6 separate regions of the Homo sapiens genome follow, and regions 1, 2, 3, 5 and 6 are each linked to region 4. The links are contacts of gene promoters, found by promoter capture Hi-C in blood cells and fetal thymus (Javierre and others, 2016). All regions are on one chromosome and are shown on one strand. The core of a region is centred on a gene start or on the middle of the fragment in contact, and the rest is flanking DNA. Distances in the headings are between cores, read along the strand shown.

What was found. Contacts are between HindIII fragments. The CHiCAGO score rates a contact against its expected background, and 5 or more counts as called.
Region 1: a fragment that was not itself captured here is called in contact with the fragment with the promoter of LARS2-AS1 in region 4 in 9 of 17 cell types (M0 macrophages, M2 macrophages, monocytes and 6 more); the score reaches 15.8 in M0 macrophages.
Region 2: a contact is called between a fragment that was not itself captured here and the fragment with the promoter of LARS2-AS1 in region 4, in 7 of 17 cell types (endothelial precursors, monocytes, M0 macrophages and 4 more). The highest score is 9.8, in endothelial precursors.
Region 3: a contact is called between a fragment that was not itself captured here and the fragment with the promoter of LARS2-AS1 in region 4, in 4 of 17 cell types (naive B cells, megakaryocytes, M2 macrophages and 1 more). The highest score is 5.7, in naive B cells.
Region 5: a contact is called between a fragment that was not itself captured here and the fragment with the promoter of LARS2-AS1 in region 4, in 5 of 17 cell types (M1 macrophages, naive B cells, megakaryocytes and 2 more). The highest score is 6.6, in M1 macrophages.
Region 6: a contact is called between a fragment that was not itself captured here and the fragment with the promoter of LARS2-AS1 in region 4, in 11 of 17 cell types (total B cells, megakaryocytes, naive B cells and 8 more). The highest score is 11.0, in total B cells.

Annotation. Positions count from the first base shown.
Region 1 is chr3:45,669,613-45,674,304 of GRCh38, forward strand. It overlaps LIMD1 (LIM domain containing 1), which reads left to right. Exons shown (of 8, transcript NM_014240.3): 5 at 3,078-3,208; 6 at 3,842-3,893. Among named protein-coding and RNA genes, the nearest start is that of LIMD1-AS1, 17 kb to the right of the region's middle. The HindIII fragment of the contact is 418 bases long and covers 1,175-1,592 here.
Region 2 is chr3:45,691,892-45,696,555 of GRCh38, forward strand. All of the region lies in intron 1 of SACM1L (SAC1 like phosphatidylinositide phosphatase), which reads left to right. Among named protein-coding and RNA genes, the nearest start is that of SACM1L, 4.8 kb to the left of the region's middle. RefSeq lists an enhancer at 2,254-2,393. The HindIII fragment of the contact is 781 bases long and covers 1,300-2,080 here.
Region 3 is chr3:45,711,221-45,716,204 of GRCh38, forward strand. It overlaps SACM1L (SAC1 like phosphatidylinositide phosphatase), which reads left to right. Exons shown (of 20, transcript NM_014016.5): 6 at 1,917-1,976; 7 at 2,826-2,859. Among named protein-coding and RNA genes, the nearest start is that of SACM1L, 24 kb to the left of the region's middle. The HindIII fragment of the contact is 2,021 bases long and covers 2,019-4,039 here.
Region 4 is chr3:45,507,581-45,511,903 of GRCh38, forward strand. LARS2-AS1 (LARS2 antisense RNA 1) reads right to left here and starts at 1,965. Exons shown (of 4, transcript NR_048543.1): 1 at 1,777-1,965. The region is part of intron 15 of LARS2 (leucyl-tRNA synthetase 2, mitochondrial); the gene reads left to right. RefSeq lists an enhancer at 344-1,210 and a silencer at 2,037-2,331. The HindIII fragment of the contact is 1,698 bases long and covers 770-2,467 here.
Region 5 is chr3:45,728,992-45,733,838 of GRCh38, forward strand. It overlaps SACM1L (SAC1 like phosphatidylinositide phosphatase), which reads left to right. Exons shown (of 20, transcript NM_014016.5): 12 at 2,310-2,389; 13 at 3,062-3,160. Among named protein-coding and RNA genes, the nearest start is that of SACM1L, 42 kb to the left of the region's middle. The HindIII fragment of the contact is 3,076 bases long and covers 1,752-4,827 here.
Region 6 is chr3:45,648,880-45,653,495 of GRCh38, forward strand. The region is part of intron 2 of LIMD1 (LIM domain containing 1); the gene reads left to right. Among named protein-coding and RNA genes, the nearest start is that of LIMD1-AS1, 38 kb to the right of the region's middle. The HindIII fragment of the contact is 3,703 bases long and covers 1,436-4,616 here.

The DNA.
Region 1 (4,692 bases), core at 134-2,633, 160 kb after region 4:
TCCAACTTCTATTGCCAGAAATTCATTTTGCTGGTTTTGGAACTTCATATAAATAGAAACATATAGTATAGACTCTTTCAGGTCTTATTACATATGTTTTTGAGCTTCATCCATGCTGTTACCTGTATTGGTAGTTTATTGATTTGTATTGCTAAGTGGAATTCCATTGTATGGATATAGCACAATTTATTTCTCCATCTCATGTTGATGGGGATTTGGTGGTTTCTAGTTTTTTGCTATTTATGCATGAAGCTGCTGTGAATACTCTTGAACATGTCTTTGATGGACATAAACACTCATTTCTGCTGGTTATATGCTAATATTTATAAAACATCAGTGACCCACAGCCCTCCCCATTCGTGATGAATATCTGCTATCTCCCAGGCTTTGACAGACCTCAGCAGAGGTCTTAGCCCTATTAGAGCCATGTCCTCATTAGTAGCCAAGACCTCCCTGGGAAACGTGGCCCTTCCCCCATGCTCGCAGTGGGAGGTAGGCAGAAGCTACATATGCTTACCTCTCCTTCCCAGGTATCTTCTAGACTCTGTAGGGCTCTATTTCTTTAGCAGAATTTGCCTTTGTTTTTAGTGTCCTTCTGACAAACCTACTTCATATGAAGTCAACATGCTCTGAATTTATGAGTATGATTATACCCTATTCTTAGTTCTAGTAATCCTAAGACTTCTTTGGATAACCTCAGGGTATGTCATTTATCTATTGCTGCATGACAAACCACCCTAAAACTTTGTAGTTTAAAACAATAGTGATTTCTTATTTATCATCATGCTTCATGCTGTGGGTCAGGATTTAGGTCAGGGTTTAGCAGGCCAATTCTTCTGCTCTGTGTGGCATTGGCTGGGGTCTCCTACTTAACTTTGTTCAGCTGGTAGCACAGTTGAACTGGAACATCCAAGATGACCTCTCACCCTCCAGGCCCCTCTCCCTGTAGCCTCTAATCATTCAGTAGTCTAGTTCAGACTTCCTTACAGCAAGAGATAGGAAGTGGAAGCTACCAGTCTTCTTAAGCCTTTGACTCAGAAATCTCAGAACATTGTTTCTTCTGCTTTCTGTTAATTAAAGAAAGTCACAAAGCCAGTTCTGATTCAAGGGGAGGGGGAAATAGTCCCCATCTCTTGATGTGAGATCTCTACCATATGGGATAGTATGAAGTTGAAGCTTCAGTCTTTCAGGTCTTCCCTAGGACTTGAAAACTTTTAGTGAATGTCTAGACAGAACCCCAGCTGTCTAACTCTTTGTGTAAATTGTCTCTCTATATACCCTTTTGTTAATAGAGGGGTACATTCTGGGCTTGCAGGTTAGAACCAGGCATAGTCTCACATAAAAAAAGTATTACAGCTAGTCACAATGCAGCAAAATGGCATCTTTTTCTAATCTTACTTTAGGCACAATGTGGATTAAATTAATTTAAGGATCTCTTTCTGCCAAGACAGCATTCATCTTGGGGAAAATGCATTCCAAGGTCCAAATTGCCAAATGGGTTTTGGAAGCCCAGCCAGTTGTTCTTCCTGTTTTGCCTTACTGCAGATTGAGAGGGCCCTCAAAGGTTAGGGAAACCCAAGAGGGAATGAGGAAGCTTGAAAGCTGAGCATTCAGAGGAAAGCTGGAATAGCACAACGCCCTCCTCTTGCCTTCTTGGCTGGAGCTTGTGCAGTGTGGAGTTATCCGCCTGAGGCTTCCAGGGGAAGGAGCTGTAACACAGCATATCTTTACCCCTGGGTCTCACAGTGTACTGACAAGGCTTCCCCAAATCCAAAATCCCCTTTCTTCAGCCTGTTTGAAGGCTTTCTGTGTGGGCTCCCACTGCTGGATGCTGATGACCGTTCTGTACATTCTTTGCAGATGCATGTTTTGGTGTGACCTTGCTCATGTTGATTCTGTAGTTCAGTTGTTTTTGCTAAGTTTCATGATGCAGGTAATTGCAGAAATGAATCTCCTATTAAGTCAGTGAAGATGCTTTCAACTGCAAATTATAGAAAAAACCCAGACTCAGTTCGAGTTAAACCAATGATCCTCCAACTTTAATATATATCAGAATCACCCTATTAAAATACCAACTGCTGGGCCTTACCCCCAGAGTTTCTGATTCAAGAAATCTGGGATGGGGTCCAAGAATGTGCATTATTAACAAGTTTGCAGGTGATGCTAATGCTGAAGGTCTGGGGCCACACACATTTCGAGGACCACTGACTTCATAGGAATGATATTTTATCTCACCTAAAAAGAGGCTTGGAGGTATGTGGTTCCATGATGAGTTAATTCAGTTACTTACGGACCTCACCAAGGATGTTCTTTCCATCTCTTCTCTTTCCTGCTGTCCATGTCTTGGGTCTGTCCTGGTTTCAGGTTGGCTCTGGCAGTTCCAGGTATCCCATCCAGATCCAGATTAAATGACACTGAGAGGAAGAAGTTTGTGGGGCTTTCCCTCTATTGCGTTTAAAAACAACAACAGAGAAACTTTACTTATTACACTTGGATTTGAGGTCATTGGGTTGAGTCAGAACTTCTAGATTATCATGCTCCAGAGTCAAAGCTGCATAGAAGGGGCATCCAAGAGGCAGAAGTGAAGGGGTTCCTTTTGAGCTCTGCCATTTCCACATGGAATTTCTTTTCATTTTTCCGAGTACTTGCTGCTTCCCAAATCTGGGAAGGATGTATCCTTCTGTGGCCCTGCTTTGCATCGTTTCCCACTTCTTCGTGGTGGATTTTGGCCCTGGGATTGGCCCATCCCTTCCTTACCATCTCTTTCTCTTAAAGAACTATGCAAGAGTTTCCTGTTCTGGGTGAGGGTTGGAAAGGAGCCCTCTTTCCCTGCCAGCTCAGAGACCCTGTGAGAGGCTGCAGGAGAAGGATTCCTGTGTGGTCTCTTCTGTGTATTCATCTAAACAGATTTGCCTTTCCCACCCCATCACCTCTTGCTCTTCTCCTAGGTGAAACTCGGGGGTAAGTGTACTCTGTGTGTGACTGCTCATGTAATCCTTAGGCCTGATGTGTTCCTCTCCCCTTCCACCATCTCATCCTTCCCTATAATCCCCACTGAGTCTTGGTCTCTGCTCCAGATCCTGCAAGCCCTGGGGAAGTCCTACCACCCCGGCTGTTTCCGCTGTGTCATCTGTAATGAGTGTTTGGATGGGGTGCCCTTCACCGTGGACTCAGAGAACAAGATCTACTGTGTCCGAGATTACCACAAGTAAGAAGGGATGGGAGCAGACAGGACCCATTCGTGTAGGCCAAGCTGATCTCAGCAGAGTGAGTGGTGGAAACCGACAAAACTGTGTTTGCCAGCCGCCCTTAGATCACAGTCCAGCAAAGGCTTAATGGTTTTGAGGGGTACAGCAGGGACCTTGGGAGGTTGGTCGATGCCAGTGTTGACAGGAATGGGTTAAAGAATCATGTTTAGTGAAAAAAAAAAAACAACAGAGCACAGAAAAACTAATAATCATATTTGTAGCTAGGCCTCGGGAGGAATCCACCAAGCCCTGTGGCTTCAGCGTTACCTAACTTCACAAGGCCCCTATGCAGTGCTGGTTCCTACCACTCTTGGTTTGCCTGGGCCTGTGCTAGGCACCATGAGAGGTGTAAACAAATCAGTTAGTGCTGTCCCCAGAAGAGTGAGAGGCAGCCAGTGTCCTCATTGCAGCTGGGGAGCAAATACTAAGGCATATTCCACAAAGTGAGCCAGGTACCAGTCATTCTATGAGGGAGGAGAGCAAGGGGCAGGAGGCGGCATGGAGGAAGGCTCCATGTGGATTCCAAGTGCAAGTCTGACTCTGGAATTTGCTCCCAGAAGCAACATTTATTGCTGCTTTGTTTCTCCCCACAGGGTGCTGGCCCCCAAGTGTGCAGCCTGTGGGCTTCCCATCCTTCCACCTGAGGTAAGATGCCCTTCCAGACATGCTCCCAGGGGCTTCTAAGACATGAATATCTCCCTGGGCTCATTTACAAGATCCATGTCCTGTCCTTACAGCTTTTAAGGTATCCTTTTAAAAATCTCAACTCTGGCCTGGTGCAGTGGCTCACGCCTGTAATCCCACCCCTTTTAGGAGGCCCAGGCAGGAAAATTGCTTGAGGCCTGGAGTTTAAGAACAGCCTGGGCAACATAGCAAGACCTCATCTCTACAAAAAATTGTTAAAAATTGGCCAAGTGTGGTGGCATGTGCCTGTAGTCCTAGCTGCTTGAGCCCAAGAGTTTGAGGCTGCAGCGAGCTATGATGGTGCTACTGCATTCCAGCAGGTGACAGCAAGACCTTGTCTCCAAAAAAAAAAAACCAAAAAAAACCCCACTTCACCTTTGAGATAAGTCGTGTCTTCACCCTTCCTTGTTGACTGGCTTCCCCAACCCAGTACCCTTCTTGTGCTGATTTGTCCCCATAACCAGGTCAAACTCCCTTACTTGATACTAATTCTTAGATTAGCAGATGAGGAGAAAGGCTTGTCTTTTCTTCATTTTTTAAAATAAGTGTCCATGTAGGTCTTTCTTTCAGTGTTAACTCTGACATTCTAGAAGGAAGGACTCCTATCCCTCCTACTTCCCCTCTCATCAGCTTAAATGTATTCTTCTTCCAGTAAGTACTCCTGATTTACCTTCTCCTCCCAAGGCCACCTACTTGTTACCCCCAAAACCCTCTTCCCTCCCCACCCCACGGTACATCAAGCCCGACAGCCCCCCTAACA
Region 2 (4,664 bases), core at 440-2,939, 180 kb after region 4:
TCCTGCTTACAATTTCCAGTTCCATCTTACTGACCTATAGGATCAAACTTGCATTTCTTAGCCATCTGTATATTCTAGCCTTTTTATAATCTGTCGCCTAATTTATTTCCCGTAACTGCCCAGAGCCTTTTCCCCACTTCTGCAAAACTTGGCTCATCCCCTTCTAGCTTCAAACTTGGGTGTTATTTTGATCCTTCTACCCAGAATGCCTTCTTCCTCTCTGTTCTCTTTACATACTGGTCACATCCATGGTAGAGCCAAGAGATCTCAGGTTTTGTTAGTCAGAATGGATATGGATTCATATCTTAACTTGACTACTTGTTTTGTGTCCTGGGCATAGTACTTAATCCTTCTGAATTGGTGTTTCAGTCTGTAAAATGGGAATGTTGATACTTCACAGGATTATTGTAAGGTTTGAAAGAGAGTTTTTTTTTTTTTTTATTATTTTTGTGAGACAGGGTCTCACTTGTCACCCAGGCTGGAGTGCAGTGGTGTGAGCTCAGCTCACTGCAGCCTCAGCCTCCCAGGCTCAAGTGATCCTCTCACCTCAGCCCCCAAAGCATCTGGGACTACAGGTGCACATCACCATGTCTGGCTGATTTTTTCTGTTTTTCAGTTTCGCCATGTTGCTGAAACTTGAACTCCTCGTCTTAAGTGATCCATGCACCCTGGCCTCCCAAAGTGCTGGAATTACTGGCATGAGCCACCATGCCTGGCCCAAAGAGAGTTTAGATGAAGTACTTAGTGTACCTCATAGGTACCTTCTTTGAGAAATGTTTTCTTTCCATGTCTTTTCCTTCACTGAGTTCTGGTAACAGTTTTTAAAGCCAAAAATGAAAAATTATTGTAACAGGGTTAGACACCAAATGTTTACATGATTTATGTATTCTGTCTCTTAGGATCAGTTTACAGTGCATTTACTTTCTCATGGACAAGAGGATGGAAAGCTAGAATGGTCAATCCATAGTACTGTTTGAACCACTCATTTTGTCACTTAGAAATGAAATCATTATGTACACCGTTATGTGACTCTTACTGACAGAGATACATTCTGAGAAATATGTTAGAAATATGTTAGGCAACTTCTTTGTACAAACATCAGAGTATAATTACACAAACCTAGATGGTACAGCCTACTACACACCTAGGCTATATGGAATAGCCAGTTGTTCCTAGGCTACAAACCTGTACAGCAGGTTACTGTACTGAATACTGTAGGCAGTTGCAACACAATGGTAAAGATTTGTGTATGTATACATACATAAACAAGAAAAGGTACAGTAAATATACGGTATTATAAGCTTATAGGACCACCATCATATGTGTAGTCTGTCGTTGACCAAAGCATTGTTACATGGCACATGGCTGTACTTTGTTTCTCCAACCAGTTTACACCTTAACATTTTCTTCTCTAGTCCTCCTCAGTACCTAACATAGAGCCTTGTGCAGAGCAGCTCCTCAGTGAATCAACTGAGTAAATGAAAGGAACTTTCCAGTATAGACCACGTACTAGCACTGCAAAAAGAACACAGTCTAGGGTAATTTGGAATGTATCGTTTTGAAGAAACACAGCTTAAAAGTCATTTCATGTATATTGTCTTCCCAGTGTCTCTGTGAGGTCATAGGTTGATAGGTATCCTGTCATTGTTGAAAACAGTCTCATAATTGCCCTTGGCCACAAAGTCAGATCATACAGCCAAGCCATGGTAGAGCTAGCCTTGGAATACGGCTGGTCCAGAGTCCAGTGATCTTTCCATTTCATTGCATTATCCATATGACCTTTTTTTCTCTTACCAGATTGCTCTCGCATTAGTCCTCAGACATGCCAGGTATTGAAATGAGTCACTTACAACCAAATATAGTTGACATGTCCATATTAATTTCCATATGTTTAATGTGGAAAACAGAATATTGATTTGCTCAGAATTTAAAATTCATACTTTTTAAACTTCCAGGCAGTTCTAAATATCCTGTTAGGCTCCATTTTTCTTTTTAAGCCATTTGTATAGGCATGGATAATGTCAGACAGTGATAAATTTGAAATTGCAAAATAATTAGACTGGAAATGTAATTTTTAAGAAGCTTATCTATCCCTGTATATAAGCTAAAATACCTTGGCAGTTCGGCGTAGGTGTCACATTTCCTTTGCAGGGAAATGACATCAAATGTGGTTTGGGCACTTCTTAGGCCCCTCAGACCTCAAGCTCATAATAACTTTCTAAAAGGTTCAGTGGAAAGTTAGAGGTGCAAAATTATTGGATACATTTAAAGCATTTTTTCTTCTTTTTTTTTCTTTTTCTTTTAAAAGGTCAGTTGAAACTAGGTGTAAGGCAGGGAATCCTTTAGTTACTGCATCAGGCTGCAGCATGCCTCTGAAGAGTACTGTTTCCTCAGGAAATTGCCATTTTTAAAAGAGTCTCATAACTGTGAGGTCATCAGTCAGGGCAGATATGATCCAACCTTGAAAACAGATGTAACCTAAGCTACCTTGTGATACAGACACATATAATCTGTTCAATATAATGAACATTCATATTATTCACAGAAGTCTCCCGGTGGAGGGAAGGGTGTAGGGCAGCTCAGATTATTCTCATGAGTTTTAGCACAGACAATATGGGGTTTGTATCCAAAGCATTAGTTGGCTGGGAGTTCAGGCTAGTTCAGGCTTACCTAGGCTCACGTGGCTAGCCTAGGTTAGTGCTAGGCTACATCAAATGACTTGGTATGCTTGTTTTAAGTGCGTATTCCAGGGCCCCACATTAGGCCTACTGAGTGAAAATCTCTGGGGATGAGCGGTGGAAATCTGCAAGTTTAACTAGCTATCCTGGTAGTTTTTATGCACTCTGAAATATTTTAGGGCTGGGCATACATAGCTGAGTTAGGACCAGAACATGCTGGTAGAAGAGAATTCTTTGGAAGATATGGGGCTCTGGTAGATTGTGCTGTGGATTAGAGCTTCAGATTAGGTGGAATTTGGACCTAGTCCTGTGAAGAAGTCTGGTTGAGAGAATGGGTTTTAGGGCATTCAGGGAATAGGATATAGGTGGGAACACAGAGTTTTGAGAAAGAGGATAGCATTAGAATGAGTCTTTCTAGAAACACCAACTGGTTTGGAATTGGGTTGTGCCCCTGGGGAGTCTGTGATGAACTTGAGCTATAGGAGAGGCAACCAGGGAGGGCTCAGTGAGGAGATACCCAAAGGGAGGATGAATGGGGGAGGTAGGAGCACCTTCTGCCTATGAGTGTAGTATGTGCAGGGGATCCTTCTTTACTAAGTTGTTTTCTTTTTGCTCACCAAACCTAGTAAAGTGTTGTGCCTCTGTCTTTTCAACCAGAGATGTATTAAATTTGATCATTAAGACCTTGATTTAATTCTTTTTTTTTTTTGAGATGGGGTCTCACTCTGTTGCCCAGGCTGGAGTGCAGTGGCGCAGTCTCGGCTCACCACAACCACCACCTCCCAGGTTCAAGTGATTCTTGTGCCTCAGCCTCCCTTGTAGCTGGGACTACAGGCATGCACCACCAGGCCCGGCTAATTTTTGTATTGTTAGTAGAGACAGAGTTTCACCATGTTGGCCAGGCTGGTCTTGATCTCCTGACCTCAAGTGATCCACCTGCCTCGGCCTCCCAAAGTGTTGGGATTACAGGCATGAGCCACTGCACCCAGCCAAATTCTTTACGTAAGATTTTTGAGGGAATATGTTCTTGCTACAGTTTTATGACATATCACTGTGGCTCCTATGCAAAATAGTGGTTTCATTATTTTTAAAAATTGTGGTAAAATAAAACATTAAATTTACCATCTCAACCATTTTTAAGTATACAGTTCAGGGGCAATAAGCACATTCATGTTGTACAACCGTTATCACCATCCATCACCAGAACCGTTTTCATCTTGCAAAAATAAACTCTGTACCCATTAAACAACTCCCCATTTCTGTATCCTCCCAGCCCCTGGCAACCACCGTTCTACTTTCTGTCTCTATAAATTTGACTTCTCTAGATGCCTCATGAAGTGGCAGTATTTGTCCTTTTATGACTGGTTTATTTCACTTAGCATAATGTCCTTAAGGTTCATCCATTGTGTAGCATGTGTCAGAATTTCCTTTTTTTTTTTTTTTTTTGAGATGGAGTCTCGCTCTGTTGCCTATGCTGGAGTACAGTGGTGCGATCTCGGCCCACTGCAACCTCTGCCTCCTGGGTTCAAGCAATTCTCCTGCCTTAGCCTCCTAAGTAGCTGGGATTTCAGGTGCCTGCCACCACGCCCAGCTACTGTTTTGTATTTTTAGTAGAGACAAGGTTTCACTGCATTTGCCAGGATGGTCTCCATCTCCTGACCTCGTGATCCGCCTGCCTCGTCCTCCCTGAGTGTTGGGATTCCAGGCCTGAGCCACTGTGCCTGGCCCAGAATTTCCTTTCTAAGGCTGAATAATATTCCATTATATGTATGTACCACATTTCGTTTGTTCATTTGTTAATAGACACATAGGTGGCTTCCACCTTTTTGGCTATTGTGAGTAATGCCAGTATGAATGTGAGTATACAAATACCTTTTTGAAACCCTACTTTCAGTTATTTTGAGTATATACCCGGAAGTGGAATTGTTGGGTCATATGGGAATTCTATTTTTAATTTTTAATGGGCCACCATACTGTTTTCCCATA
Region 3 (4,984 bases), core at 1,779-4,278, 200 kb after region 4:
GTTGGTCAGGTGACAGTGGGCCGGGGGGTTCCAGGCAGAGGTGGTGGCAGAGGCTAAGCTGCAGAAAAAGCCATCTCATCTGTTGGGATGAGATGGGAATGTTTTGTCAGCTAAACAGAAAGTTAGCCAAGTGTAGTGGTTCATGCCTGTAATCCCAACACTTTAGGTGGCCGAGGCAGAAGGATTGCTTGAGTCCATGAGTTCAGGACCAGCCTGGGCAACATAGGGAGACCACAGCTCTACAAAAAAATTTAAAAATTAATCAGGTGTGGCGGCACGCACCTGCAATCCCAGCTACTCGGGAGGCTGAGGTGGGAGGTTCACTTGAGATAGAAGCCACAGTGTGCTGTCATCACGCCACTGCACTCCAGCCAAGGCAACAGCAAGACGGTCTAAAAAAAAAAAGTTAATGTTAACATAGGGAATCATAAAAGTGATAAATGGAACATATATACCCTAAATATTTTAACTTAAAACCTAAAAGTTTTACATTGGTCAATGTTTTTATGTACGGCCATAGGATTTTCTTTGTTTTTGGTTCCTTGATTCTGAATTGTCTTCCCTGTGTAAATTACATCCATAGGGCTTTCCCATTTGGGCCACTTTAAAGACTTTGACACTTACAGAGAAATCTGTGTGCAGAATCCTGTACATTTTTACTATGTTCTTTTATATTTTTTTAGTTGCCACTCCCACTCCAAATTCAACAGCAGTTTTGTTTTAGCAACTTGCCTCTTATCAAGTTACATTCCAAATCATTTAACTTTATAGAAACAGCAGTGTGTTTTTCATCTTATTTCATTGGTTTATAAAATAGTTAAACTATATAATGATGAAATAATAATAAGTATGACTGGTACAAATTCAGGAACACACACTTGAATCTCAGGAAGTGCGATTCAGCTGGTTGTGGTCAAGTGCAAAAGCCATTCCCTGTGACTTTTAGAGTCGGCGGTGCTGGTGGTTCAGTTGGTATGCTTCATAAATAGAATTGATTAATCTACTGAGTAGAGTCAGTTATTTTGTTTGTTTTTTCTTTTTTGAGACAGAGTCTTGCTCTGTCACCTATCCTGGAGTGCAGTGGCACGATCTTGGCTCATTGCAGCCTCCACCTCCCAGGTTCCAGTGATTCTTGTGCCTTAGCCTCCCCAAGTAACTGGGACTACAGACACGTGCTACCACGTCTGACTAATTTTTGCATCTTTAGTAGAGACATGTCGGCCAGGCTGGTCTCGAACTCCTAAGTCTCAAGTGATCCGCCTGCCTTGGCCTCTCAAAGTGCTGGGATTATAGGCATGAGCCACCACGTCTGGCCCTAAGTAGAGTTGATTAAATATAGATTGTTGAGGGAGCCTCTTCTGTATTTATGAAAGTTGGAGTGGCCAGAGATGAGATCAGAGAGTTAATTAGGGGCTGCCAGATCCTAGGACTGATTAGGCCATGCAGAGATTTGGTTCTTTAGATGACAGAGTCATTGAAGAATTTTGAGCAGATAGGAGACAGGACATGTTAGAGAACTCCTGCTGGTAGCATTGTGGAAAAATGAGTGGCGAGGGCTAATGCCTAAACTGGAGGCAAGGGAAGGTGTGTTAGTTAGGCTGGAGTCAGATGTTGGTAAAGATAGTGGGAGTAGAAATGTAAAAAATATGGATTTTGAAGGAGATTTAGTACTTGACAATTAAATGTAAGGGAAAGAAATACCGTAAAACTCCTCCCAGGTTTCTGTCTGGCCTGAGACAATGAGACAGAAATGCCCACAGGAGGTACAGATTTGCGGGGGAGATGTATTTTGTTTGAGGCCTGTCAAAGAAACTGGCTTCTAGCCATCAGAAAGAGACATTGATTGGTGTAGTTTTCTTTCTGTAGAAAGTAAGCTTGGCAGGAGATATTTTATTAAATTTTAAAACTTCTCTCAGGCAGATCAGCGGTTTGTATGGAATGGTCATCTTCTAAGAGAACTTTCTGCACAGCCAGAGGTAATGTACACGAAATAAAATCTGCTTAATTGTTACAGTCCAAGCTTTAATTCAATGCATGCTATAAAGTGACTTCCTAATCACCAAGAATTTCGAGAAACAATTCTAATTTAACTGTTTATAACTTACAAACTTGGATCAGGTCTACCCTGTCACATCATTCTAGGTTGAAGAAGCCTAACTATTTTACTCTGATCTTCTATAGAAGCCTTAAATAAAAATACATTGCTTTGTCTAACTAAGAGAGATACAGGGGATCTTGGTACATGGATAATGGAGAAATGAGGGGCCAGGGCCAAGTTTCCTGGCCAAGGGGAGAGCTCTTTTTTGTCTTCCTTTGGGGATGAGACTCCCTTCAGTCACCCAGGAGAGACATGCACAGGCACCGCCCTCTTCTGTCCTTTGTCTACACATATGAGGTATAAACAGGGAGGCCCAGCTAGGGAAACATGATATATTATTGAATCTAGGTAAATAGATGTGTCTAATTGCTTTATTTCTTGTCATTTGCTATGCTTTTTTTGGAAAAGTAGTTTGAGCTGCAAACAATTAGCATGGGATATCTTTTCCCTGGAGGAGTGAAGTTGTTGTAGGCAAAGACTGAAAAGGAGGTAAACATTCTGTAACTTCATGTAGCTTTATTAGTGTTCCAAAATCTGTGAATATTCAAGCTCAAATGATTGTAATGCATACTTAATGTTACATTAGAGAAATCTTTTAAAAATTATATTACCCATAAGTTTACTACCTTGTTATGTTTGTATATTACCTCCCTATGTGTAAATATTTTTATATAATGCTTATTTATTTTTAAAGTATATTTATTCTAAATATATATCTTCATTTCAGGTTCATCGGTTTGCCCTTCCAGTGTTACATGGCTGTATCCTTACATGATATTACTCTTTAGTTTCTAGATGCCTTTATTTAAATTTTATTATAAGGCAGATTTAGAGATAGTCTCAAATACTCCATAAGGAGAGTATTTCAGAATTAATATAAATTGCTGTTGATAAGAAAATCAAACTCATTGCTATTTTGTTTGTTTTTTTTTTTTTTAGAATGAACTTTTCAGACTATACGATTCTCTCTCTGTTCAAGAGTTCTGGGGTTGGTTGTTTAAAGAAAAGGAATATGTGTACTGTATTTTGCCTTTATTTGATGTTACCTTTTATCAGTAAATTACACATAAGTAGTTTGGACCTGGCTGTTGAAAACTTTCCTAAGTACATAATTTAAAAAGTTAGACTTAGGCCGGGCATGGTGGCTTGCACCTCTAGTCCCAGTTACTCAGGAGGCTGAGGTGGGAGGATGACTTGAGCCCAGGAGTTTGAGGCTGCAGTGAGCTGTGATGGCACCACTGCACTCCAGCCTGGGTGACAGGGTCAAAAAAAGTGAGACTCAGACACTAGTGTGGGTAACAAGTTGGAGAGGAGAATTACCATTAAAAATTTTGTCATTTGAAATAGTGACAGATAAATGAAAATAAGTAGAGTACAAAGAATATTGCCTAAGGGAGAAATCAGAGTACAGATACAAAATGAGTAATGATTATCTAATTGTAGGTTCATGTTAAAAACAGATCTATGTCATAGACATCATAATAAAAATAAAGCAGCCAAGTGAGCTGGCTCTTAAAGGATATATAAGCACAATATGCTCATGAGTGCCTATCCAGTTATGTGCCACATACTGACATTTCAGTCGGTGACAGACCACATATATGAAGGTGGTCCTATAAGATTATAATACCATATTTCTACTGTATCTTTTCTATGTTTAGATATGTTGAGATACACAAATACCATTGTGTTACAGTTGCCTACAGTATTTAGTACAGTAACATGCTATACAGGTTTGTAGCTAAGGAGCGATGGGCTATACCGTGTAGCCTAGGTGTGTAGTAGGCTGTGCCATCTAGGTTTGTGTAAGTACACTCTATAATGTATAGAATTGCCTAACGATGCATTTCTCAGAATGTACCCCTATTAAGTGATGCATGACTGTAATCAGGATTGTGCCCTGAAGAAAACGGTGATGACATCTATCAAGCACATGTAAGAAGCTTATCAATACAAGTCTATTATTTATTTATTCAGTATGTTAATATAATTTCACTAAACTTAATGCTTGTTATACTTAAAGAAAACCCAAAAAGTAATGGAGGAAACATGTTCCACAGTTATGGGGAAATAAAAATTAGAAAATTTCATGATAAAAGCTCATTTATTTTTGTTTCCCCACCCCGAGCTTTCCAAGTTCTCCTAAGGATAAAATAAGAATAAATGTGTTTATTCAGCCGGGTGCAGTGGCTCATGCCTGTAATCCCAGCACTTTGGGAGGCCAAGGCCGGCAGATCATGAGGTCAGGAGTTCGAGACCAGTCTGGACAACATGGTGAAACCCTGTCTCTACTGAAAATACAAAAATTAGCTGGGCGTGGTGGCTCACACCTGTAATGCCAGCTACTCGGGAGACTGAGGAAGGAATATTGCTTGAACCCAGGAGACGGAGGTTGCAGTGAGCCGAGATCGTGCCACTGCACTCCAGCCTGGATGACACAGCAAGACTCCATCTCAAAAAAAAAAAAAAAGTGTTTATCCTTATTTAGTGCCTTAAATGATTTGGGCCAACTATGGTGTTTTTTGTTTTTTGTTTTTTTTTCAAAATGAGATTGTGAATGGACAAACAATATTAAGTGAGATTATAGAACCTTTTTTTCTAGGCAATTTTAGAAACAGCTTACTCATTTACCTTTAAATTGAAAGCTTTAAATGAGCTTTTCTTTAGTGTAGTTTGTTGACTAGAAGTAAAATCATATGTTTCACACACATACAGAGACATTAATAAGTAAAATGACCCCAAGACAGGAACATGACTGGAATAGAGAGTGGACAGAGAGGCGGGAGCTGTGTTCAGAGAATTAGCTCAGCCCAGATGACTCAGGGCCTTATAAGCCATGGGAAGAACTGTGGCTTTTACTTTAAATGTGATGGGGCCAGGCATAGT
Region 4 (4,323 bases), core at 715-3,214:
CATCTACGTGGAGCACACTTATACAACACTTTCAATTAAATTACAAAGAATGTTTAATAACATGGAGAAATTCATCTGAAGTAATGAGAAATAGAAAAAGCAAGATACAGCTTGGTTATCTTTGTCTTTATATATACAAGCACATATATACACATACTCAAAGCAAGAGAAAAGACTTGAAAAACTCATGCCAACATGTTAACACTAGCTATCTCTGGGTGGTGAGCCCAATATACTTCTGATTTTTTCCAGATTTTTTACAATGATTGTGTAACTTTATCATTTACAGTATGGTATATATTCCAAAGAAGGAAAATATGCTGAGCCTCCTGCTGTGGTTGTGGGTGTGGGGTAGGATCAGCTTTCAGCTTCCCTCCTTCCGGTGGTTAGCACCAGGTTGAAAGAGAGGGGGCACATTAGAGCGTGGGAACATGTCATGGCCCATCTTCACTGAATGAGATCAGGAAGCCTTTTCTCTCCCTTTGTGGGAGACCGCTGTAAACATGGAATCTTGTCACTTTTTGTTGTAGCTCTGTAATGCAACTTAGACACTAAATTCCCCAAACTGAATTTCTCCCTTCAGTTTGGAATCAACAGAAAGTGGTGGCTGTCAGAAGCAAGCAGCTGCTCAGGGAGCTCCCATGAGAAGGGCAGGCCGCCTGCTGACCGTGGAGAGCACAGCAAGCCCCTATCCACAGAGCTTTCTTCTCTGTTACTCTGATCATGCCAGAAACGGGGCTACTGGGAAAAGGAACAGGAAGGGAAGAGAAGCTTTACTTGGGTCCTGCTGTATTAGTAAACCCTCCTTCTGCGCCACTAACTGGCTGCTAGGAAATGGGAATGGTGATATTTCAAGAATGAGCCATGGCTAATACTTAGAAACTAGGCTAATTATGTGACATGATGGCCCTGGGCACAGAACAAGGAAGAAGAGGAAGGTAAACTTAGTCTGATTTAATGAAAAGTCCAATTTGGAGACCATTTTCAGAGATCTATGGCCTTCAAAGATCTGCAGCCTGGCAGGCCACTCTCGCACCAGGTCAGGGGAGTGGGCAGCAGGCTCTCTGGGGCTTCATGAATAGGTAAATGTCATCTGCAGCAAGAAGGTGGGGCTCTGATACATCCTGATATTCTTTGCTCATACTGTAATTAGCACATTCCTTGTATATAGTGATTTTTTTAAGAGCACTTAACATGGCCAATCAATCAATGTTCTGAATTTCCTTGTTTATCCTAATAATTAGCAACTCCCTTCCTTCCCTCCCTTCCTCCCTCTCCTCCCTCCCTACCTTTCCTCCCCTCTTTCCCTGCCTCCCTCCCTTCCTTCTTTCCTTCTTCCAAGTGGGACAAATGTGGCCTTCAATGCCCAGCAGCTATCAGTTGTTGCAATTTCTGAGTTAGTGCAGTCTAAACTAATGAAGAAATTGTGAAGATCTCCCCCCAGTTTTCATCACTGTGCTTACATATAGCTGTGCTTCAGTGCAAGCAAGCATGATCTACCTCCAGGGATGTACCGAAGGAGTAGGAAGAAAGCTGACTCAGAAATCCAGGGCCTTCTTCAAGGCAGAGGCCCTGCCTAATACTCCCGCGTTTGATGGTCCCTGAGTCAGAACGGTTTGTTAGTGGTTTAGAGTTGCAGATTTTCCACTCACTTATAAAGGCCCCTGCTGTGCACAGTCACTATGATGAATGAATAACTCAGTTGCATACGCAAGTCTGTTCCCAAGTACCATCTGTTGAGTGAATGAATGAGTGAACAAAAGGGAAACACATTACCCCAATTGTGAATCTGAATAATGAACTTGGCAATGTGATGTGATCTCTGCTCCAGCAGGCCTGGGTTCCAAGTCCAGCAGGGCCCTTGATGTCCTTTGTCCTTCATTCCTGTGCACCTTGCGCCTCCAAATCACATTTGGTACGTCTTTCTTGTAGTGCTGATGGTTATTTATGAGCATGTCCTGGGCTGCCTGTTCTTATTGTAAGCTCTCCAATTAATTGCCTAGTGCTGTGTACCCAATTATCATGTAAATACATGTTGAATGAATAAACAAGTGTGACTCATTCAGAGCTAAACTACGCATGAGAGTAGACATGGCCAGCTTCAGCCAAGAGTGAAAACCAGATTCCCAACTCCCTATAGCCCATTCCCTGGCTCCCTGGAAAAGTGGAGGGAAAACACTTGGGAATGAGCAGGATTCTAGGAGCTGGGAAGCGCCCCTTTCCCCACTGGGAAATTCCATGTGAGCACTCATCGGGGCATTCCCCTGCTCTCATTCTCTTGCTTCAGCTGCTTGGGATCTTTCAATGCACCCCTCCCTGCAAAAAGATGGTGGCACTAGCTGGAAAGTATAGCATCCAGTGCCCCACTTCACTCATTTCTTTCTTCCCTCCTCTCTTGCCTCCACTTTGTCCTACTCACATTATCCCCCACCCCTGCTGCTGGTAGGTTTATTCATCCACTGAAACAAGCTTGATTGAGTTCAAGGCAATTAACATTACTGAGCATCTGTTAGGAACTGGAGACTGAGAGTGGCCTTTAAGGATTTTCAAGGCCAGGAGCAGTGGCTCATGCCTGTAATCCCAGCATTTTGGGAGGCCGAGGCAGGAGGATTGCTTGAGCTCAGGAGTTCAAGACCAGCCTGGGCAACATAGTGAGACTTCATCTCTACCAAAAATACAAAAAATTAGCTGGGTGTGGTAGTGCGCGCCTGTGGTCCCAGCTGCTTGCAGGGGTAAGGTGGGAATATCACTTGAGCCCAGGAGACTGAGGCTGCAGTGAGCTGTGATTGTGCCACTGCACCCCAGCCTGGGTGACAGAACAAGACCCTGTCTCAAAAAAAAATCATCCTCCTACTCCTCACAGGAGAAAGACAGGCAAGCAGCTTACCTAAATACACAATAAAATGTAATAGCTGCTAGATACAATTACAGGCACTACACAGGATGCATCAGGAAGGAAAAAACAACTAATTCTAATTCTGACCAGGAGATACCTTCTCAGTGGAGATGGCATTTGAGTTGAGCCAGGAAGGAGGACTAGAGTTTTGATAACAGTTTGGGAAATGGCGTGAGTAAAGACGTGGAAGCACATGCAGGCAACATTTGAAAGAGCAGAGGGAGTGGCAGGGGACAGGGAGAAGTCCTGGATGGCTATGCGGAGGAATTTGGACTTGATTGGGAGGAGGAGCTCTTCAAATATGACTGCACTCTTTCTTTTCCTCCCTCACAGCTCTGAGAGTTGTCAGGCATTGGTTTGGTTCAGTGATCGTAAACAGGCTGGCTCCCCAAGGGCAGAGATTGCTTTGCCCAACATTATATCCCCAGTGCCTAGCTCAGTGCCAGGCACATAGCAAGCACTCAAGAAATACCAAAGAAATAAGTGATACATTTCACATAATAACTCTGTGCTTTCTGATTATATGGTACGAAGAAGAATTCAGAGACTCGTTCTGAGCACCAGGAGTGCTGCTGTCGATGAATGGTGTCTGGGTGGTTGTAGGCAAGGGCACTGGGGATAGTTGGCTAGGTTTTGCCATCCCTGCTCTAGATGATCCATCTGAGATGGCCCCTGCTGCACTGCAACCCTCAGAGAAGACAGTCCAGAAGAGCTTCAACTGTCAAGTTTCATTGTTGGAAGCTTTCAGACATTAGGATATATTCATGTAACTAGCAGGTCTTGGTGTGGGTGCACTGCTGAGGACCTGCCTGCCAGTTCTGGGGAAAGCCTCCCATGTGGACATCCCCTGAGAGCTCTCACTAAGAAATGGCTACAAGCGGGTTAGAAACAGGCAGATGAAATAATAGTGTTAGCAGTCAGGCTATAGGGGCCCATAGTGAGGAGACAGTGCCTAGAAGCGGATGGAAGGTTGATTTCACGTTCTGCTAATTGGGCTGAATGCCAGTTACACAAGTGTGTTTTATATTGTGAAGATTCATCATTATACCGCTAGGACTTACACTTTTCAATATGTGTGCTATACCTCAACAGTTTACCTTAAAAAAAAAAAAGTTATAAAAGACGAGGCAAAAGTTGCAGCCTTAGGCTGAACAGCTGGGGTTAGTCAGTTTTTCGCAGGTTGCAATTCTGTCCGTTCTCGGAAGGTGGCAGTGTTGTGCCACTTGATAAAATACAAGACCTAAGAATAGGATTCCTTGGATTCCCAGCCCCTTCTTGAGGCTTAATGCTGCTGATTTTTTTTTTTTTTTTTTTTTTTGGAGACAGAGTCTCGCTCTGTCTCCCAGGCTGGGGTGCAGTGGCGTGATCTCGGCCCACTGCAACCTCCGCTTCCTGGGCTCAAGCAACCCCTGCCTCAGCCTCCCAAG
Region 5 (4,847 bases), core at 2,040-4,539, 220 kb after region 4:
CTGTAGAAATAAAAATTGGAGTTACAGACCAGGATTTCAATAATACTGGCTTTTATATTTGCCCTTGTCTTTACCTTTTTGGATTTATTTATTTATTTATTTATTTATTTTTTGAGACAGAGTCTTATTCTGTCACCCAGGCTGGAGTACAGTGGCACAATCTCGGCTCACTGCAACCTCTGCCTCCTGGGTTCAAGCGATTCTCCTGCCTCAGCCTCCTGAGTAGCTGGGATTACAGGTGTGGGCCACCACACCCAGCTAATTTTTTTATTTTTGGCAGAGACAGGGTTTTCATGTTGGCCAGGCTAGTCTCGAACTCCTGACCTCAAGTGATCTGCCCACCTCGGCCTCCCAAAGTGCTGGGATTACAGGTGTGAGCTACTATGCCCAGCCTGTTGGAAATTTTTATATCTCTGTATAGCTGCAAGTTACTGTGTAGCATCCTTTCATTTCAACCTGAAGGACTCCCTTTAGCATTTCTTACAGATTGGGTTTAATGATAATGAACTACCTCAGGTTTTGTTTATCTAGGAATGTCTTAATTTTTCCTTCATTTTTAAAGGACGTTTTGCCAGATACAGAATCCTTGGTTGACAGTTTTTTCTTCTTCCAGCATTTAAAATATATGATCCCACTGTCTTCAGCCTCCAAGATTTCTAATGAGAAATTGGCGGATAATCCCATTGAGAATCTCTTGTGTGTGATGAGTCTCCTCTCTCTTGCTGCTTTTCAGGATTCCGTTTTTGTCTTTCAGCTATGTGATTATAATGTTTTTGGTGTGGGTCTCCTTAGAGTTCAGAGCTTGGGTTTGTAGATTCATATGTTTCATCACATTTGGGAAGGTTTTGGCTATTTTTTTTTTCTTCAAATAATCTGTCTCTGCCTTTCTCTCTCTCTTCCTGGAATTCCCATAGTGCTAAATATTTTATTTCACTTTTTGTACTCTTTTGCTCCAGAATTATTTTTTGGCTTCTTATAATAATTTTTCTATCTTTGTTGATATCCTCATTTTGTTTATGTATTGTTTTCCTGATTTCTTTTAGTTGTTTGTCTGTGTTTCCCCTTAGCTCTTTGAGTGTTTTTAAGACAGTTGCTTTAAAGTCTTTGTCTAATAAGTCTAGTCTTTGTCTAATAAGCCAAGTCCTGTCTTGGCTTCCACAGGAACAGTTTCTGTCAATTTCTTATGTTCCATTGAATGAGTCATGTTTTTCTGTTTATTTTTGTACCTGTGATTTTTTTTTTAATTATATGTTTGATTATTATAATATCATAACTCTGGAAGTCAGAGTCTCCTTTTCCCCTACGGTTTGCTGGGGTTTTTTTTGTTTTATTTGATTGTTAAAGACTCTGCTAATCCATTTTTTTTTTTTTTGAGACTTTTCCAAACTATTTTTGCCAAAACTTTCTTATTGTGTATGTTCACTGAGGTCTGTTCCTTTTGCTTCTATTCAGCTGTTTTGACAGGTTTCATTGAATTCCAAGAACTGAAATAGACAAACTAACAAAAAAAGAAAGCAAAAATGAGAGAACAACCCTGTCCCCCATTCTTTGCAGACTTGCTGTATGCTGGGGCAGTCCTTTGCTGAGTAGCCAGGCTTGCTGTGAGCCTAGGGATCAGTCTGTGGTAAAGGTTTAAGGTCTTCTCAGGACTCTTTTCAGCATGCATCTTGCCTGGTTATGTGGGTGGCCTTCAAAACTCCTTCATATACATGGCTGCTTTTGAAAGTCCTAATTTCCTAAGAATATCACCAAGCTTCTTCTCCAGCCTTTAGATGGTCTATTGTATGTCTCCATCCAGAATTTTTTGCCTCAGGCATCCATTGGTTTATGTTCCTCTTGTAGCTTTTACAAACAGTGGTCACCATTTTTACTGCCCGTGTTCAGAGATACGTGGGACAGAGATGAGTTAGTCCTTCATGTTACAACAGATGTACACAATTATATGCAAATAAGGTCTGGTCTGCCTCCTCTAGTTTGATGAGGGGAACTGAGAACCCGGTTATTCCCTTGTAAGACTAAGGTTGTCACCACTCTGAGGAGGGGCTGGGTCAAGGACAAGTTAAATGCCACAAAACTTTCCCACCATTTTGAAAGTGACTTTTACTTTATTGGGTGCTTGGGTGGGTTACTATAAAACCTTTAATCGTTTTTCAGAGCTCCTACAAAGTTGGCTCAGACAGCTTCTGGGTTTTTTTGATGTTTCTGTGGGAGAATGATGAGAGCTTAGAGCTTCCTAGTTTGTCCTTTTTCTGATACCATTCTCTCCTTTGAAATAAACTGGAAACTATGGTGTTTGAAATTTTTTACAGATTAACCAGAAGGGCTCGGAGAAGCCACTTGAGCAGACATTTGCAACAATGGTGTCTTCCTTGGGAAGTGGAATGATGAGGTACCTCACTAGAAATCTGTTGCAGGTCTTTTCAGATCAGATGTGCACTTACATATATGCATGATTACATAGAGCTCACTAGACATATGTTTCAGCTTGCATTTTTTTCAATAGTAGATCAAAGCATGATATTTTGTTGGCTTGAAATTTCTCTAGCATAATTTATGTTGCAGAATAACTTCTTTTCAGTCAAGTTTTGAGTTTAGTCTCTGATTAAAATTCCCTCATTGAGGCTTTGTGCTCCAGAGAGTTTCCATAGATAATACTTTGCCACTAGAATTGCCTTAAGGAATTTGGACTAGGCCTCTTTGCAGTGCATACCTGATTGCTGTACTTGAGCTTACTTCACTACCATTTGTTGTGTTTCTCCTCTACTCCTCCTGAGGGCCCCAGAAGAACCTGTGAGGATAGATATATATGCATATATTTTCATGTTTATATCTGCACATATCATATATATATTTTTTCCTCTGCTAGGTATGAGCATGAGAAGGGGTGTGTGTGTGCATGTAGTATATGTATAGTGATAAACCCAGAGTGAAGGAGGTTCTAGTGTTCCCAAGAAATATGTATGCACTGATATAAAGAGGAAAATCAGCTTATGAAGGTATTATTAATAGAAGGAAAATGAATGATCTCTGGTCGGTTTCTGAATATCTTTTCTTTTGGTAGATACATTGCCTTTGACTTCCATAAGGAATGTAAAAATATGAGATGGGATCGACTAAGTATTTTATTGGATCAGGTAGCAGAAATGCAAGATGAATTAAGGTAAGCTATATTATTTCCTTAAGGAGGTAGAGGGAAGAGGTATATATATCAGTCATATTTTATTATGCGTCATCCAGCAGACTTACAAGTACAGTTCACTGGATTGTCATTGCTTGTCTGTACTATTTTATTATTTTTAATTTCTTTACTGGAAAGATGAGACTTGGTGACTTCAAAATATTTTTGAATTCTTAAAAATGACCCAAGGCCAGATATCTTCATATTTTTATAAATTATCTACCATACATTTACAAATTTTTGTATAATTGAACTTGGTTTACTACTATTTTGTATTGTCGTTTCCACTAGACATTCTATCACAAGTATTTTGTTGTTAACCTGTACAGCGTCTGTAATGATAGTGTTTAATGGCTTTTCTATATTCTGTTTTATCATAACATAGTTCTAAGAAAGTGCTTTTCTTCACCCTGAGCACCTGGTTTATTTCCTTTCCTCTTTCTATCATGAAAGATTGTGGTGCCATGAATCATTATATATATTTTACATCTGTTAAATTTATTTCTTTAAAAAAATTCTTCAGAGTAGGATTAATGGATCAAAGGGTCTGAATGTCTTTGCAGTACTATATTATCATATTGGTTCAGGTTTACCATACTCTATGCGTGCCAGTCTTTACCGATTTTAAAGCCAGAAGAAGGAATCTGTAAATCGTACTACCATTTTCTTCTGCCTGTGTGTGATGGTTCTAAACCTGGCAATCCAAATGCACTTTTTAATTTGTTACACAATAATATAGTAAAACCTCTTGGATAGACATTTGCTCAGTTTTCAAAAATATCTTTTTATATACATTAGGTAATCAACTACAGTTATTTAAATCTGCTTTTTTTCTGTGACGTTTTGCCATGAACACAGAAGGGAAATTGACCTCCTGTTGTTGGGCAATTAGAGAAAACATTGGCTGGCCCTGGCATGTTGTTGGAGGAGGTAGTTCCTTGGGTTCACCCATTAACTGCTGCCGTACAAGAGTGTAAGAAAGAAGGAGAGTTGACTCCAGAGTTTGTGTTCGTTGCTGTTCACTGTGGTCCACAGGGAGAGCAGAGCTTTCACTGGTGACTTTCAGATGATCTCTCGAGACTTTTTTCTAAGGGTTTTGGGGGTAGTGGGAAGAATCTGGGCTTTGGGATCCAACACACCTTGGTTTGAATTTAAGTTTTTCTCTTAGTAGTAATATGACCCAGGGCCACTTAGTTATCTTCAGACTTCGGTTTCTTCATTTGTAAAGTGAAGATGATAACTTACTGTATAGTTTAAGCGATAATGTTTATAACATATCTAGGATTTTATAAGTATTCATGGGGTACGGACACACACACCCTTGCACACACATATATATGTACACCAACTCTAAACGAACCTTACCAATTCTGCATGATCCATATGTAGATTTTTCATCCTAACACATTCTTCCACGCTTTTGTTCCTGAGGTCATGATTTGTATTTAGCCCTTGATGAATCTGTTGCATTTTCTTCCTCCTTTTGGATTTTGGAGAATAGTTTCAATAGTTAACATTATCCAGTATTCGTTGTTTGCTGTGTTCCATACACTGTGCTAAGTACTTTATGTGCATTATGTGTTATCTCATTCAAACCTTAGAGAAGCCTAATGGTGGTGCTGCTGTTACCTCCATTTTGTGGATGAAAAAGCTTACTATTTAAAGTTCT
Region 6 (4,616 bases), core at 2,037-4,536, 140 kb after region 4:
AAAATGTCTTCTCAATTCCCTGCTCATTTTTACTTGGATTGTCTTTTTATTATTGAGTCTTAATCGTTCTTTGTATAGGATTTGGGAATATTTTCTTTCATTCTGTGGACTGTCATTTCATTTCTTGATGGTATTGTTTACAGCACAAAGGCTTTAAATTTTGATGCAGTAGAATTTATCTACTTTTTTTCTTTTTTTGCCAGTGTTTTGGTGCTTTTTGTAGGAAAACATTGGCTGACCCAAGGTCACAAAGATTCATGTCCATGTTTTCTTCTAAATGTTTTAAAGAGATTTAACTAATAAGAAAAAAGTCTCACTTGTCCTCGCATTTGCCATTTCTGCTCCTTCTCATCCCTTTGTTTAGATTCAGGTTTTCATCTGGTACCATTTTTCCTTCTGCTTGAAGGACTTCTCTTAACATTTTTTCTTTTTCGTATGCTGATTTGGTGATGAATTCTTTAAACTTTTGTATTCTGAATTTATCTTTCTTTCATTTTTTTATTTTAAAATATATTTTTTTGGCTGGGCGCGGTGGCTCACGCCTGTAATCCCAGCACTTTGGGAGGCCGAGGCGGGCCAATCATGAGGTCAGAAGATCGAGACCATCCTGACTAACATGGTGAAACCCCGTCTCTACTAAAAATACAAAAAATTAGCCGGGCATGGTGGCGGGTGCCTGTAGTCCCAGCTACTGGCGAGGCTGAGGCAGCAGAATGGCGTGAACGCAGGAGGCAGAGCTTGCAGTGAGCCGAGATTGCACCACTGCACTCCAGCCTGGGCAACAGAGTGAGACTCTGTCTCAAAAAAAAAAAAATTATATATATGTATACATATATATATATAAAATTATATAGATATATTTATATATAATTATATATTTTATATATATAATTATATATATAAAATATATATATTGCTGGATATAGAATTCTAGCTTGATACTTTTTTGAGTTCCTTGAAGTTTTTTTGTTTTTTTTTTTTTTACTATTTTCTCCCTTTTTTTTTTTAATGAGAAATCTGATATCTCTATTCTCTGTATGTGACATGTTTTTCCCCCATTCTGGCTGCTTTTAAGATTTCATCATTGATTTTGAGAAATTTGATTATGATATCCTTGGTGTGCTTTTCATGTTTCTTGTGCTTAGGGGTTTGTTGAGCTTCTTGGATCTGTGTGTTTGTAGTCAGTCTTCATCAAATCTATTTCTTCACATTCCTCCCCATCCACTAGGGACTCCAATTACTCCAATCTTAGGCATCTTGAAGTTGTCCCAGAGCTCACTTATGCCCATTTCGTTATTTAAAAAGTTCTTTTCCTCTCATTTCATTTTGGACATTTTCTATTGCTGTACCTTTAAATTCACTAATGTTTTCTCTTGCATGGTGTAATCTGCTATTAATCCCATCCAGTGTATTCTCTTTTCTAAAATTTTTAAAAAGCTTTTTGTTATTTATTTATGTATCTTTTTTTAAATTATACTTTAAGTTCTGGGGTACATGTGCACAATGTGCAGTTTTGTTACATAGGTATACATGTGCCATGTTGGCTTACTGTACCCATAAACTCATCATTTACATTAGGTATTTCTCCTAATGCTATCCCTCCCCCAGCCCCCCACCCCCCCCAACAGGCCCCAGTGTGTGATGTCCCCTCCCTGTGTCCACGTGTTCTGATTGTTCAACTCCCACTTATGAGTGAGAACATGCGGTATTTGGTTTTCTGTCCTTGTGATAGTTTGCTGAGAATGATGGTTTCCAGCTTCATCCATGTCCCCAAAAAGGACATGAACTCATCCTTTTTATGGCTGCATAGTATTCCGTGGTGTATATGTTCCACATTTTCTTTATCCAGCCTATTATTGATGGATATTTGGGTTGGTTCCAAGTCTTTGCTATTTTGAATAGTGCCGCAATAAACATAACGTGTGCGTGTGTCTTTATAGCAGCATGATTTATAATCCTTTGGGTATATGCCCAGTAATGGGATGGCTGGGTCAAATGGTATTTCTAGTTGTACATCCTTGAGGAATTGCCACGCTGTCTTCCACAATGGTTGAACTAATTTACACTCCCACCAACAGTGTAAAAGCGTTCCTGTTTCCCACATCCTCTCCAGCGTCTGTTGTTTCCTGACTTTTTAATAATCGCCATTCTAACTGACATGAGATGGTATCTCATTGTGGTTTTGATTTGCATTTCTCTGATGACCAGTGATGATGAGCATTTTTTCATATGTCTGTTGGCTGCATAAATGTCTTCTTTTGAGAAGTGTCTGTTCATATCCTTTGCACACTTTTTGATGGGGTTGTTGTTTTCTTGTAAATTTGTTTAAGTCCTTTGTAGATTCTGGATATTAGCCCTTTATCAGATGGGTAGATTGTAGAAATTTTCTCCCATTCTGTAGGTTGCCTGTTCACTCTGATGGTAGTTTCTTTTGCTGTGCAGAAGCTCTTTAGTTTAATTAGATCCCATTTGTCTATTTTGGCTTTTGTTGCCATTGCTTTTGGTGTTTTAGTTATGAAGTCCTTGCCTGTGCGTGTGTCCTGAATGGTACTGCCTAGATTTTATTCTAGGGTTTTTATGGTTTTTGGTCTTACATTTAAGTCCTTAATCCATCTTGAGTTAATTTTTGTGTAAGGTGGAAGGAAGGGATCCAGTTTCAGCTTTCTACATATGGCTAGCCAGTTTTCCCAGCACCATTAAGTAGGGAATCCTTTCTCCATTGCTTGTTTTTGTCAAGTTTGTCAAAGATCAGATGGTTATTTTTTTTTTTAAGATGGAGTCTTGCCCCCATTGTGCAGGCTGGAGTGTAGTGGCATGATCTCAGCTCAGTGCAACCTCCACCTCCCGGGTTCAAGCGATTCTCCTTCCTCAGCCTTCCAAGTAGCTGGGATTACAGGCATGCACCACATGCCTGGCTAATTTTTGTATTTTTAGTAGAGACAGGGTTTTGCCACGTTGGCCAGGCTGGTCTCAAACTCCTGACCTCAGGTGATCCACCTGCCTCGGCCTCCCAAAGTGCTAGGATTATAGGCGTGAGCCACCGCACCCGGCCTGTTATTTATTTTGAGACAGAGTCTTGCTCTGCTGCCCAGGCTGGAGTGCAATGGTGTGATCTCGGCTCACTGCAACCTCCGCCTCCCAGGTTCCAGCGATTCTCACGGGTCAGCCTCCTAAGTAGCTGGGATTACAGGCATGAGCCACCATGCCTGGCTAATTTTTGTATTTTTAGTAGAGGTGGAGTTTTACTATGTTGGCCAGGCTGATCTCAAACTCCTGTCCTCAAGTGATACGCCTTCCTTGGCCTCCCTAAGTGCTGGCATTACAGGTGAGAGCCACCATGCCCGGCCAGCCAATGTATTGTTTATCTCAGACATTTTGGTTTTCATCTCTAGCAGCTCAGTTTGAGCCTTTTAAATATTTTCCATGTTGCTACTTAACATTTCCAACATATTGAATATAGAAACAATAGCTTTTAATGTCCTTCTCTGCTAATTCTAATATCTGTGTCTGATCGGGGTTGATTTCCATAGATTGATTATTCTCTTCCCTGTGGGTTGTGCTTTCCTGCCTCTTTGCATGCCTGGGAATATTTGATTGGCTGCCAGACATTGTAAACTTTACCTTTTTGAGTCTTGGATATTTTGTATTCTTTCAATCTTCTGAGCATTGTTCTGGGATGCTGTTAAATTATTTAGGAACAGTGATTCTTTCTAGTCTTGCTTTTATGATTTATTAGATGAATTCAAAGCAGAGCTCAGTCTAGGGCTCTATTATTCCTCATTCTCAGGGCTGGTGGGAATAGGCACTGTTTCCAGCTTTTGTGGGTGCCAGGCACTGTTCTTGCGAATCCTGCAGATGTTTGTCCTCTGACTTTGGTTAGTTTCCTCACAGGCAAGAGCTGATCCATGCTCTGCTGAACACTTAACGGAGACCCTCTGCACATCTCTGGGTTGTCTCTGTGTGCAGTATTCTCATCTCTGATCCAGACGATAATAGCCTGGAATAGGGGAAATGGAAAACTAACTATAAGACAAAGACTTTGGAGTGGCACGTGAGAAGAGAATTGGAGCGTGAGGCAGCAGTGCTCAGAACATGGTCCTTGGCCAGCACCAGCAAAGGCCGAGAAAGAGATGAGAACGTTTAGAGACCTTCCTAAGAGTTTGACAGAGTGGCTTTGTGTCAGTTGAATTGGATAATAACTACAGTTGGGGCTTGGATTTTATGTTTCATTTTTCTATATTATTGTATTTTACAAGATAATAAGTCTGACAGATGGAAATTAAAAACAAAAGCCTCCCATACCTAGCCCTTTGCCACAGATAAACTGAGAAGGAAGGAGTGATGTAGGGGATTTGGATGAGGAGGGAGAGAGGGTGGTGGTTATGATTCTTAGCTCTGGTGGGTGTCATTTGAGGAAACGGAAGGTCAGGTAGGGATGCTGGCAACAGTCACACCAGATGCCTGGTATGAGGTGCACTGGGCTGCGTTCCCTACTGTGATCCCACTTTTATCCTTACCAGGGAACCTGAAGGGTTTGGGTGACAGCCAGGGTCTCATTTCAGGGAAGGGGCAAAGGCAAGGTTGGACCCCAAGCCTGAGTGCTTTTCCACTTTGCC